Regions from separate parts of the Homo sapiens genome. Here all the other regions are linked to region 3. The links are contacts of gene promoters, found by promoter capture Hi-C in blood cells and fetal thymus (Javierre and others, 2016). All regions are on one chromosome and are shown on one strand. Each heading gives the region's core, a stretch centred on a gene start or on the middle of the fragment in contact. The rest is flanking DNA. Distances are from core to core; before and after follow the strand shown. Region 1 overlaps DOCK3 (dedicator of cytokinesis 3). Region 2 overlaps DOCK3 (dedicator of cytokinesis 3). Region 3 holds the start of DOCK3 (dedicator of cytokinesis 3). Region 4 overlaps DOCK3 (dedicator of cytokinesis 3).

The links. The method cuts DNA at HindIII sites, captures the fragments that hold promoters and counts their contacts. A CHiCAGO score of 5 or more calls a contact.
Region 1: a fragment that was not itself captured here is called in contact with the fragment with the promoter of DOCK3 in region 3 in 3 of 17 cell types (megakaryocytes, naive CD4 T cells and naive CD8 T cells); the score reaches 6.2 in megakaryocytes.
Region 2: a contact is called between a fragment that was not itself captured here and the fragment with the promoter of DOCK3 in region 3, in 4 of 17 cell types (naive CD8 T cells, total B cells, naive CD4 T cells and 1 more). The highest score is 7.0, in naive CD8 T cells.
Region 4: a contact is called between a fragment that was not itself captured here and the fragment with the promoter of DOCK3 in region 3, in 1 of 17 cell types (monocytes). The highest score is 6.5, in monocytes.

The regions. Positions count from the first base shown.
Region 1 is chr3:51,353,668-51,356,545 of GRCh38, reverse strand. It overlaps DOCK3 (dedicator of cytokinesis 3), which reads right to left. Exons shown (of 53, transcript NM_004947.5): 41 at 1,523-1,664; 42 at 291-457; 43 at 53-139. Among named protein-coding and RNA genes, the nearest start is that of MANF, 30 kb to the left of the region's middle. The HindIII fragment of the contact is 963 bases long and covers 929-1,891 here.
Region 2 is chr3:51,315,693-51,318,922 of GRCh38, reverse strand. All of the region lies in intron 32 of DOCK3 (dedicator of cytokinesis 3), which reads right to left. Among named protein-coding and RNA genes, the nearest start is that of MANF, 68 kb to the left of the region's middle. The HindIII fragment of the contact is 528 bases long and covers 1,618-2,145 here.
Region 3 is chr3:50,673,656-50,676,503 of GRCh38, reverse strand. It overlaps DOCK3 (dedicator of cytokinesis 3), which reads right to left and starts at 1,577. Exons shown (of 53, transcript NM_004947.5): 1 at 1,204-1,577. The coding sequence starts at 1,240. It overlaps MIR4787 (microRNA 4787), which reads right to left and starts at 1,424; the gene lies at 1,341-1,424. RefSeq lists a silencer at 1,324-1,613. The HindIII fragment of the contact is 16,225 bases long and covers 1-2,848 here.
Region 4 is chr3:51,258,601-51,261,663 of GRCh38, reverse strand. It overlaps DOCK3 (dedicator of cytokinesis 3), which reads right to left. Exons shown (of 53, transcript NM_004947.5): 23 at 1,338-1,508. Among named protein-coding and RNA genes, the nearest start is that of MANF, 130 kb to the left of the region's middle. The HindIII fragment of the contact is 820 bases long and covers 1,320-2,139 here.

The DNA of each region.
Region 1 (2,878 bases), core at 161-2,660, 680 kb before region 3:
TGGGGCTGATGGAGCAGTTGTGAAGCTCAGCTTCATCTGAGACATGTCTCACCAGTTCCCTCCTCTCCACTTCAAACCACCGAGAGATGCCAGGCAAGCTGTGGGTCAGGGTCAGTGTGGTACGTTCAATCCACAGGCTCTGTAGGGAGGGAACAGGCAGGTATGGGCAGTTAGGCAAGTTTTGCCACACCCTGCCTACCTGAGGGATAAAACAGTGGTGAGTTCCCAAGGAAGTTGAGCTTGCCCCTGGACTTGCTGTGTGTACTGCCCGTTTTCCTAGATTTGTTCACCTTGAATTCATTCTCCTTGTCCTTGGGGCCTTTGTGAAAAGGCCTGTCATACCGGAACTTCCTCACATTGTTGACGCGATAGAAGCTCTTGACTCGATCTGGTACCCTATCCATCTGCAGAACATCCACATAATCTGGAATGGGCGTCACTGCATAGATCTGCAAGTCTGGGCAGGAAGTGAAGGAGAAACACAGACTTGCCAGAGCTGGGCCTGAGAGGCTGACCCCTGTCATCTCCTCAAAGGGGAGAAGTGCACCATAGTCCCTGCTCCTTACTGACAGCCCAGTAGGGGAGGCAGTGGCATCTCTAGGGGCAGATCAGACCCAAGCTCAGTTAGGTAAATCTCTATCTGCTCTCTCCCTCTCCCTGCTCTAGTAGTTGAGTTTCATGAGCACTCAGCCAAGGTGAGATGTCAACAGCCAAGTGTTCTCTGGTGCCCCTTTAAGAAACAAAGGGAAAGAGGGGAATGCAGGCATCCACCCCATGGGAGTGAAAGAAGGCTGCAAGGGTCTGGGCTTCCCCTCTATAGGTAAAGCATATTTACTGAAGAACAACTTTTAAATAAAATACTGTTTGAAATTTTTGTGGAAAAAAAGCAGATAAGAGTCCACTTGCCCTCCCTTCTCTGAAACAAGCTTGCCATAGTCATGGCAACTGTCATGTGGTCCCCAAGGAAGCTGTGTGTGAAAGGTGAGGGGAAGGGCAGTGTTTCCATTCAGACTTCCAAGTGCCACCAAACCAAAGGAACTCCTCATCTTCTCCTGCTCCACACATCCTTGGGCCCTGCCCCAGTCCGCCTGATGAAGAGAAGGGACAACAATAGTACACATGGGAGTGGAGCAGGGCACAGCACAGGTGGTATCCCTGTGACAAGAGCCCTGATAGGACCCCAAGTCACCCTGTACAGTGATTGCTCCTGGCTGCCTGGGCAGACTCCTCATAGGGCAGGGTGAGGATTAAGCTGTTGGAAGCAGCCAGCCTGAGGGATAAAGGCCTTCCTGAAGCCCCACTGATAACTAGACCACCCACTGCTAAGGGCGTGCCACTGCTTCCTCTTTGAGGTATTAGTGCCTTGCTAAGTGTGTGCTAAGCAATGAGGACACACTCAGGTTTAGGACTATGGGATATCTAAACCTGTATGGTTGGCAATGTGGTAAAGGGGCAGCTGACTGGGTGGATCTCACCTCCCAGGGCCCCTGCCCTCCTCCTCCCACCCAGTATCAAAGGATACACTGGGCATCGCACTGTAGGATGGCGTCATCAGGATGGTTGGGGTGCTGCATGGCGACAGCCTGCGGAAACTCACTGAGCATCCTCTGCTGGAAGGCCTCCAGCCTCTCGTAGTCATGGCCACGGCACACGTATTCTTTGTTCTGCCACAAACAGAAGAGCACACTCTATGTATGCTTTGCTTGTAGCCCCCCACCTCCACCCTGGAGTCAGTAGCTACATATAGCACAAACATATCTTAGGAGCCTTCTCTGTATCAGGCCCTGGGACAGGCACAGGGCATTGCACTCAAGGAGGCAGAAGAAAAACAAAGCGAGAATTACACTGTGGTGTGGCAGCCCCAAGGGAAGGGTACAGGCTGCAAGAAGCTTGGAAGAAGAAGAAAAACCTTACGCAGGAAAGAGAGCAAGGTGGGAGATGGGATTTTAGAAAAAGCTATGTTAAAAAAACGTCCTGAAAGGTCCACCTAGGTCAGGCTGGTATGGTATGGTGTGAGTGGAGAAGGGCAATCTATGTGGGTACCGTGACAACCAGGGCAACAACAATCAAGACAGGAAAAGGTGGAGCTGGAAAGAAGGTGTCTGTGTAGAGAACTGGTAGAAGCAGTTGGGCAGAGGGGGCACTGCCAGCCCCTCTTGACATGTCTTCAAAGGAAGAAAGAGAGAGGCATCACAGGGCCAGCCATATGCTTCCCGGGACAGGGTTAATCACTGGGCAGGCCTTGGAATACCCTGACCCTGACTCCAATGTTACCAAGGAGTGATTGCTATGGGTGCCACCAAATAATTTTAAATGGGGGGGGGGTGGTGATCAAGTGTGTGATTCTGAAGGATCACTTTTATTAGTTGGGAGAAACAGTCTAATGTTGCCCAGTGCCCAGTAGGTATTCAGTAACTGTTTATTGCATTAGTAACCCTTTGGCAGCAAATTTCTTTGCAAACATGTCAGCAGAACAAATAAACATCATGCTAAGTACAGACTTCTTAAAACTTTATGTTATGTCACATTTACTTTTGGTTATGTCTCAGTTTTTCTCTTTGTGGACAAGGCACCCCCAACTCTGCTTGCTCTGCCTATGTCATAGCTGGTCATGAGTGGGTGGCTGGAGGAAGTTCCCCTGAAACCCACTGGTGATGCAGTCTGCCCATCCAACTGCCTAGCCAGACCCATTTCAACAAAATGGTATCAGGCACTGCCAGCCCCTCTTGGCATGTCTTCAAAGGAAGAAAGAGAGAGAGAGGCGTCACAGGGCCAGCCATATGCTTCCTGGGACAGGGTTAATCACAGGGCAGGCCTTGTAAGACCCTGATCTTCTTGAAATAGGATTTCTGTCTCATTTTTACTTCCTCTCTCACTA
Region 2 (3,230 bases), core at 632-3,131, 640 kb before region 3:
TAGCAAGGGTACAGGATATAATGTTAATATATAAAAATCAGTTGAATTTCTATATCCTAGAAACAAAAATAAAATTTAAAAATTGCAATCATTTATATATTTATATAAACAAAGTGGAACATTTTAATTGAACTTTCTTAAAACCAATGGATCAAGTAGCAAAGCATTAGTTAGGCTACAGAAGTTCAAACAATATAATTAAGGAGCTTGAGCTACTAGATAAACGTAAGTTTTACTCCCTCACCCACAGAATACCCATTGTTTTCAAGTTCATGTAGAACAATTTTTTGAAATGCTGCATACTTGACAATAAAGGGAGTCTAAAATTTTTTCAAGGAATCAACATCATTCAGTTGCATGGAATTATTTAGAAGAGCACCAAAAAACAGGAAATACATATAAATCTAATAATATATGTGTAAGATCTGTATACAAAACACTGATGAAAGAAATAAAAGAACACCTAAATAAATGGAAAGATATACTGTTTTCATTGACTATTAAGACATAATTCTTCCCAATTTGATATATATATAATTTTTTTGAGACAGAGTCTTGCTCTGTTGCCCAGACTGGTGAGCAGTGGTGCGATCTCAGATCACTGCAATCTCCCTTTCCTGGGTTCAAGCAATTCTCCTGCCTCAGCCTCCTAAGTAGCTGGGATTACAGGCACCTGCCACCACGCCCGGTTAATTTTTATGTTTTTAGTAGAGATGGGGTTTCACTGTGTTGGCCAGGCTGCTCTCAAATTCCTGATCTCAAATGTTCCACCTGCCTTGGCCTCCCAAAGTGCTGGGATTACAGGCATAGCCACTGTGCCCGGCCCCCAATTTGATTTATAGAATCACTGCAATCCCAGTCAAAATCTCAGCAGGAATGTTATAGATATCGACATGCTGATTCTAAATTTATTTAAAAAAGGAAAAAGAATTAGATAGCTAACACAATACTGAAAAAAAAAGGACAAAACTGGAAGACAGACTCACACCATGTGGTTTTAAGACTAACTATAAAGCTACTATAATAAGATAGCGTGGTATTGATGAAAGAATAAACATACTGATCTACGGAAGGACTAGAGTCTAGAAAGAGATTCACACAAATATGGTCAATTGATTTTTTAAGTAGTTTTAAGTGACAATAATTATATCTATTTATAGAGTACAATATGATGTTTTGATATATGTATACATTGTGAAATGATTAAATCAAGCTAATTAACATATCTGTCACCTCACCTAATTTTTTTTTGCAATGAGAACATTTAAAGTCTACTCTTTTAGCAATTTTTAAATATACATTATTATTATTATTATTATTATTATTATTATTATTATTATTTTGTGATGGAGTCTCGCTCTGTTGCCTAGGCTGGAGTGCAGTGGTGCGATCTTGGCTCACTGCAACTTCCACCTCCCGGGTTCAAGTGATTCCCCTGCCTCAGCCTCCTGAGTATCTGGGACTACAGGCACGTGGCACCACGCCTGGCTAATTTTTGTACAATACATTATTATTAACTATAGTTACCACGTGGTGCAATAGCTCACTAAAGCTTACTCCTCCTAACTTTGAATACAAAGTTTCAAAGGTCTTTTTTCTTTTTCTTTTTTTTAAGCTTCTCCTTGTCCAAACCCATTTGTTTTTCTTTTTTTTTTTTGGCAATTGGTTTTTGACCAAGGCAGAAAGACAACTGAAGAAAGGATACTCTTTTCAACAAAAGATGCTGGAATAATTGGACATCTTGTTGCAAAATAAAAAAAAGAACCTGATCCATCCTTCATACCTTATACAGAAATCAACTCAAAATAGATCATAGATCTAAATTTAAAATGTAAAACTATAAAACTTCTAGAAGAAAAGACAGGAGAAAAATTTTTGTGGCCCTATGTTAAGAAAAAGTTCTTGGGGTATGACCCCAAAAGCATGATCTATAAAAGAAAAACATTGACAAACTGGACTTCATAAAAATTAAAAACTTTTGTTCTAAGAAAGATATTGTTTAGTAAATGAAAAGATAAGCTAAAGATTTGCAGAAAATATCTGTAAATCATATGCTCAACAAAGGACTTACATACAGAATATATAAAGAACCCTACAATTCAACAATAAGGAAAGCAGCAACTCAAATGAAAATGAACAAAAGCTTTGAACTCATTTTACCAAAGAAGCATAAAGATGGTATATAAGCATATGAAAAGATGCTCAACACCATTAGTCACTAGGGAAATAGAAATGAAAACCACAATGATATACAACTACACACCTATTAGAATGGCTAAAACAAACGAACAGATAATACTAAGTACTGGTTAGTATGCGGAGCAATCGATTATATACTGCTGCTGAGACTTCAAAATGGTATAGCTATTTTAGAAAAGAGTTTGAGAACCTCTTCGAAAGCTAATTACACACTTGTCACAAGGCCCAACAATCCTATTCCTAAGTATTCACTCAAGAAAAATGAAAGCTTATATGCATACAAAAACCTGTAAAGAAATGTTTTTAGTAGCTTTATTTATAATCCACAAAAGAGGAAATAACCCAAATGTCTTTCAAATGGTGAATGAATGAACTAAATACTACTCAGCATAGAAAAGCTACTGATACATGCAGTGACATGGATTAATTTCTCAAAGCATTATGCTAAGTGAAAGGGGCCAGTCTCAAAAGGCTGCACTTTGCTTGATTCCATTTATATGACAGTCTAGAAAAGGCACAACTATAGTGATGAAGAGCAGACCTATGGTTGCATTTGTTAAGAACAGGGGAAGGGTTTGACTACAAATAGACAGCAAGACTGAATTTTTAAGTATTCAAAAACTCTTGATTGTGGTAGTGGTTACACGACTATGCATTTGCCAAAACACATAGAACTGTAAATCAAGAAGAATACATTTTACTCTATGTAAATTTAAAAATAAATAAATATTTAAAAATTACTGTTTGCCTGGTCTACTTCTCACTGTTACAGTCACCTATTCTAAATAGACCACTGGTTCATCCCAGAATCACAGGCTCGGAAGGAGCTTAGTGGGGAACTGGTACAATTCCCAAGCCAATACAGAAAATTCCCCTAGAGGTTTCCTGGGAGCTTCTGCTTGAAGATCATCTGCCAAGAGAGAAAATCTCTATCTCCCAAAGCAGGCCTGCTTACAGTGGACAGTTTTTGCTGTTAGCAAGTTATTTATTTGATTAGCTAAAATTGGCTTCCTCATCATTAGCCCCTATTG
Region 3 (2,848 bases), core at 328-2,827:
ATCCCAGCTCTTCGCATCATTTCTCAATTCCTTCTCAATAGAGACTCTAGGACCAGAGCTCCCTTTATCACCTCCATCCTAACATACCTAATTGTTTCAGAAAGTTACCTTTTAAAACAAGATCTTCTACCAGAATAGAAGACCTCTCTGCTGGTCCTCGAATTTAAATAAATTCAATTTTCACACGATAACCTGCCTGATAGCATTCCAAAACATTCGTTACCACTGCAGTTTCAAGTTATTTTGTAGTGAATTGTGAACTAAATCTTGATTAAATTGCGGTAAAGATGGGAAACAAAAATCTATGTTTAGACAGGTTTCCTATCTAAAATTTTCCATTACGAGCTTAGGAAAAACAAAACCTGTACACTCAACATTTTAAATCTGTTTCTAACTGAACAAGATGATAGGTGATGCAATGAGGCTTAACTCTATCATGTAATTGCCACAAAACACTAACATTGTAAAACATTCAATACTTTAAATTACTGAATATTCTTTTTAAAGAAGTTGAATATTGTAAGAATTATTTAGCTTCTGGAGTTTAACACTTACAACATTAAAAAAAGGTTTCTAAGAGGAATAAGGTCTCATCTGAAAACAGGGTTTAAAAAAAAAACCGTATAAACATTGATACATGTCCAAAAACATTTCCCATCGTAAGGTATTATTTCTAATACTAAAGGCAAAACAAATTAAAACAGATCAAACATTTGCAGTCAAATGTCCAAATTTTTGAACTGGGAAAATGATGTCAACGTTTTTCATCCGTTTTCTTGTAAGGTTCCAGATCAAAAATAAACAGCCATCGGGCTCATCAATTCAGGTGCGGAAACTCATTAAAATCGAGCTTTTGGAGGGGAGAAAACATATTCCCAGAATTTGGTTTATCGGGTAAAATTGCCCCGTGGCCCACACCAGAAACCTCGGGCAACTGCCCGGGCCTTGCCCACCCCTCCCGCGGGCCGCACCTGCCAAGGCCGCACCGCCAGCGCCCCCTGCCGCCCTCTCTGCACAGAGACCCGCGCCCACCCCCGCACCCGCACCCGCACCCGCACCTGCCCCCACCCCGCGCTCGCCCCGCGCCGAGGCCGCGCAGCCTGCGGGCAGTGGCGGGGGCACGAGGATGCGAATCCAGGCGGGGCCGGGAGCTGGGCGCGTCCCCCAGAACCCCCGCCACGGCCAGGCCTGAGCCTCACCTACCTACGCCGTATTTCTCCTCCTCCGTGGGGGTCCACATGGCCGTGCCGGGCGCGGCCCCGCGGGCGCGGCGACCGGGCGACAACGCGGCGGGGACGGCCGCGGGCCCGGCTGTGGCGCACCGCGAGTCGAGGCGGGGACGGTCAGGCGGCGCGGGGCAGTGGGCGGCGCATCCCTCACAGGCCGTCCGGGATGCCGCCGCCACCCCCGCCACGTCTGGACCGCGAGGCTCCGCGGGTGGCCCAGCAGCCCCTGGCGGCGCGGGCGAAGGCTCGCCACCTGTCCGTCGCCGCTGCTCCCGTGCCGCCGCTTGCTTCTTCACAGCTCCGCCGCCCGGCTCCCGGCGCCGCCGCGGCTCGGCTCGCCCCAGCGGGCTCGCAGGACGCCCGCGCATGCGCCACTCCCTGCCGCGCAGGGGCTCGCGCTGCCCGGGCTCGCGCCGTCCCGAGCCCGCGCGCGAATCCACGCGCCGCTGCTGCGCGCCAGCGGAGGGAAATCCGCGAGAAGCTATTGGACTGCCCGGCCCCGGACCGGCTTCTAGAATCGCTGGTCCGGGGCCCTCAGCTGCAGCAAACCCCGGAGGGGGCGAAGCCGGTCAGGTGGGCGACTCCCTCTACCCGGACTCCCCACTCGCTTCCGCTTCCAGTGCCTCCTGCCTGCGCCCCGAGATGGCCACAGGCCTCCTGGTCGGAGAGGGGAGATCCAGAAAAGGAGGACACGACACCATTTTCAGACCCATCCCAGTGTCACCCACAGTGCTGTCGGAAAGGTCCCCGGAGCCACCCTGTGCATTCCCAGGGCCCGCAGGATGGAGTCGCCACGAGGGAACCAGGTGGGGTGCACTCGTGCCCCTCTCTCCTGGATCCCCTGTGGGCTGAGGCCGCTGACACCTCCTGGGTTCTTGCTTCTCTGAGATGGCCTGAGTGGTGAATGTTTGGGGCCAGAACAATCAACAGCCGCCTTGCTAGTAAGGAAGAGCTTCATTGGGCCCTTCGTGTTCCTACCCAGGACACGGCATCTGCTGCTCCTGGGTGTCTGCCTCCCTTGGAGCCCTAAGAACTGGCTCCTACCGGAAACTTTCCTCCTCTCTCTCCTCCCTAAGAATCCATTCATTCTGATGCCTGTAAATGTCACCTTGTGACCCCCAAGTCAACCACTTACCAAAGAACAGGAACTGCAGGACTTCTCCTTTCCACCTACATTTGGACCACATGCTCTAATCCCAGCAGATTTGCCCATCTCTGTCACTAGCACTACTAAGTCAAAACCCTGGTGTCATCCTTCACTAGCACTCTCAGACACCACCACTCTTCAAAGCCCAGCTCAGCCCCTCACCTCCAGGAAGCCTGCCCTGACCCATAGTCTCCTTTCCTTCTTTGTCTGGAATTGGAGCTATGTTCGGTTTGTCTTATTTCCCTTATAAGACTGTCAGCTCCCAGAAGGCAAGCTCCAGGCTAAAATCAACTTTCTAAACCCTCACCACCAACCCAGCACCTGTTGTATAGTTGTTGCATGGGAAGCCAGACTAATAGAAGAATATCTTGCAATCAACAGATCTTGTTGATTCTTCGTTCAAAGTGTCATGATTGGTAACTCCTCCCAGGCCTGACTGTGCTCCCCTGGGTTATGGCCACCCCTTCCCACCTTC
Region 4 (3,063 bases), core at 480-2,979, 590 kb before region 3:
GCCAGTGGATCTTAACTTGCTGGGCTCCGTGGGGGTGGGATTCACTGAACTAGACCGCTTGTCTCCCTGGCTTCAGCCCCCTTTCCAGGGGAGTGAACGGTTCTGTCTCGCTGACATTCCAGGCTCCACTGGGGTATGAGAAAAACTCCTGCAGCTAGCTCAGTGTCTGCCCAAACAGTGGCCCAGTTTTCTGTTTGAAACCCAGGGCCCTGGTGGTGTAGGCACCTGAGGGAATCTCCTGGTCTGCAGGTTGCAAAGACCATGGGAAAAGCGTAGTATCTGGGCCGGAATGCACTGTTCCTCAAGGCAGTCTCTCCCAGCTTCCCTTGGGTAGGGGAGGGAGTTCCCCAACCCCTTGTACTTCCAAGGTGAGGCGACGCCCCACCCTCCTTCTGCTTGCCCTCCATGGGTGCACCCACTGTCTAGCCAGTCCCAATGAGATGAGCCGGGTACCTCAGTTGGAAATGCAGAAATCACCTGCCTTTTGTGTTGATCTCGCTGGGAGCTGCAGTCCGGAGCTGTTCCTATTTGGCCATCTTGCCAGCCCTCTGATCCTAATTTAATCTTAATTCTTAGCCAAAGATTCCTAGTTACTCCTACTGTTTTTCAAATTATTTCATTCAACTTCTGGAATGGATAAAAGCTAATCTAAATTTTCTTTTTTTTTCTTTTTCTTTTTGGAGACAGAGTCTCAGTCTGTTGCCCAGGCTGGAGTGCAGTGGTGCGATCTTGGCTCACTGCAACCTCTGCCTCCCGGGTTCAAGCAATTCTCCTGCCTCAGCCTCCTGAGTAGCTGGGACTACAGGTGCATGCTAGCACACCCAGCTAATTTTTTTGTATTTTTAGTAGAGATGGGGTTTCATCATGTTGCCCAGGCTGGTCTTGAACTCCTGAGCTCAAGCAATCCGCCCACCTTGGCCTCCCAAAGTGCTAGGATTACAGGTGTGAGCCACTGTGCTCAATTTTCATTAATACAATGATTAATCTGGAAATAAAATTCCCCATACATTCTCAATATCTCCTATGAATAAGGTGTTCATAAAAAACTAAGTAGTATGGTAGCTAAATAAACTTGGTCTAAAGACTGTTCACAGAACAAATTTGTGCTTCTTCTCCAACATAAAGCCACTGAGCTGTTTTACATCTGGCAGCTGAGGCACAGCCAGATTTGCAGTAAAAGCAGCATTTTGTTGTATCAGGTATTTCCTTGTAAATAATCCCTTACCCAACACACATGATCCTGGCAGGGCTTCTTCATCTCTGAAAACCAGAGGACAAAGAAACCACCCACTGAGAAAGAGGAACCCAGCATCAAAGCTTCCCTGCAGTGTGCGAACCTGAGTAAAAAGGAGTGTTTCTGAGTTTCGGCTGTCCAGACTGAGCACAAACCGGATGGACTGGAAAAGTTCTTGGATACTGGATCTGAATTGTTCCTCTTCCATTCCACAAGTGGCTCGTGAGTACAGGATCCGTGACTGTACAATGAACTTGAAAAGGTACTCCAAGGCCTGAAAAGTGTGGGAGAAAAAGTGATGGAGAGATGTTGAAGATGCTCAGGAACTCACATAGCAGGAAACAAGGGGCAAAGTAACAGCAGTTTCTATACCAAAATCAGGTGTTGGGCAATTCTAACTATGGAGATAGATAGGTACTTTATTTTTAAAAATTTTTTCTCAAATATCCAAATTGTCACTAAGCAGCAGCTACCTTCTTACTGAAAGAATCATCAAATAATTTCACAACTGTTTTCTGAGGTTCTGGAATTAAGGAGCCATAGACTGTTATAGAAATAGTTGAATTCAAGACCACTCAGAGTTTAAAAAATAAGTTTCTCTGTATTTTTTTTCAGGTCTGGAAATAAAAGGGTCACAAGGCAAGGATGTAAGAAAGACTCAAGTTTACTGCAAGAAGGAAGTGTCCTAAAGGACTGAGGAATCCTCAGACTTAGGAGTCTCCTACATCTTTAAGATATAGCTGGGGCCTGACACAGTTCCTCCTTTTTCACCAGGGGTCACAGAAATCTGAAGAAAACCTGTCCCAGGCTGCACAGCAGCTGATAGGCCTGATACATCCAGTATCCACCCTCTTCCCACCAAGACATCTGCTATAAGCAGTTCATAAATGGTACAAGATGAAGCTTCTGCAAAAATGTTTGGGAGCAGAATCTGATTCTGAGGAGTTCCTGACGCTTGGCCCATGCTTACAGAGTAATTTTCTTTTAAGAGAACAAATTCAAGACCCAATACTATGTTTTCTAATAAAAAAAAAATGCCACAGATTTCCCAGACACTGAAAAGCCAGAAATAATGGAGAGAAACTTATGCAAGGCTGAAACAAACAGAAGTCAGGTACTTGAAATATAAAACAGGAAACAATTCCCAAACTACCTTTCATGATCTATCCAGCTGTTAGATGGTTTGGAAAAGCAGAACTTAATATTTTGTGGCCCATACAAAATTCAGTTGGCACTGGGGAATGCCAGTTTAGAAAAATGTGTCTTACAGGGCTTGTACCAGATGATTCTGTAGAAGGATTTAGTGTGCGGCCTCATCTCCATAAATGCTACACCCTCTGTTCTAGTAGCTTTTTAATGCCTAGTCTATAAAGAACTTGAAATATCTGTTAGTTTCTAAACCCAGACACTTGCAGGCTGGACTCTGCCACTGCTCTAGTATGTCTATATTGTGGTGACTCTTCAGGCCCATGAAGCAGAAAGTATACACTTCTGAGCTAGCTTCATTTATTAGCTTATGCCAGTTTGAAGTCACTGAAGTAGGAGGTATTTTCTATCGGAACAAAGAAAATAAATGTTTGCATTTTCCAAACTAAATGGCTAGGTAGCAGGTCTGACCTTCCCCTTTAGGTATTTTGGTTTTGTATGATTAAGATGATGGCTTGCTGGGCTCAGCAGAGGACAAAAGAGGGACAAGGTCAGAACTGACACCCTGGAATCCTTATAGGTAGGGACTAGAATCCCTATAGGTAAAGGATAGAACAGAACTTCTTGGAGCAGCCTAAAAAGCCAGGATGTACTCGGGAGGCTGAGGCACGAGAATGGCGTGA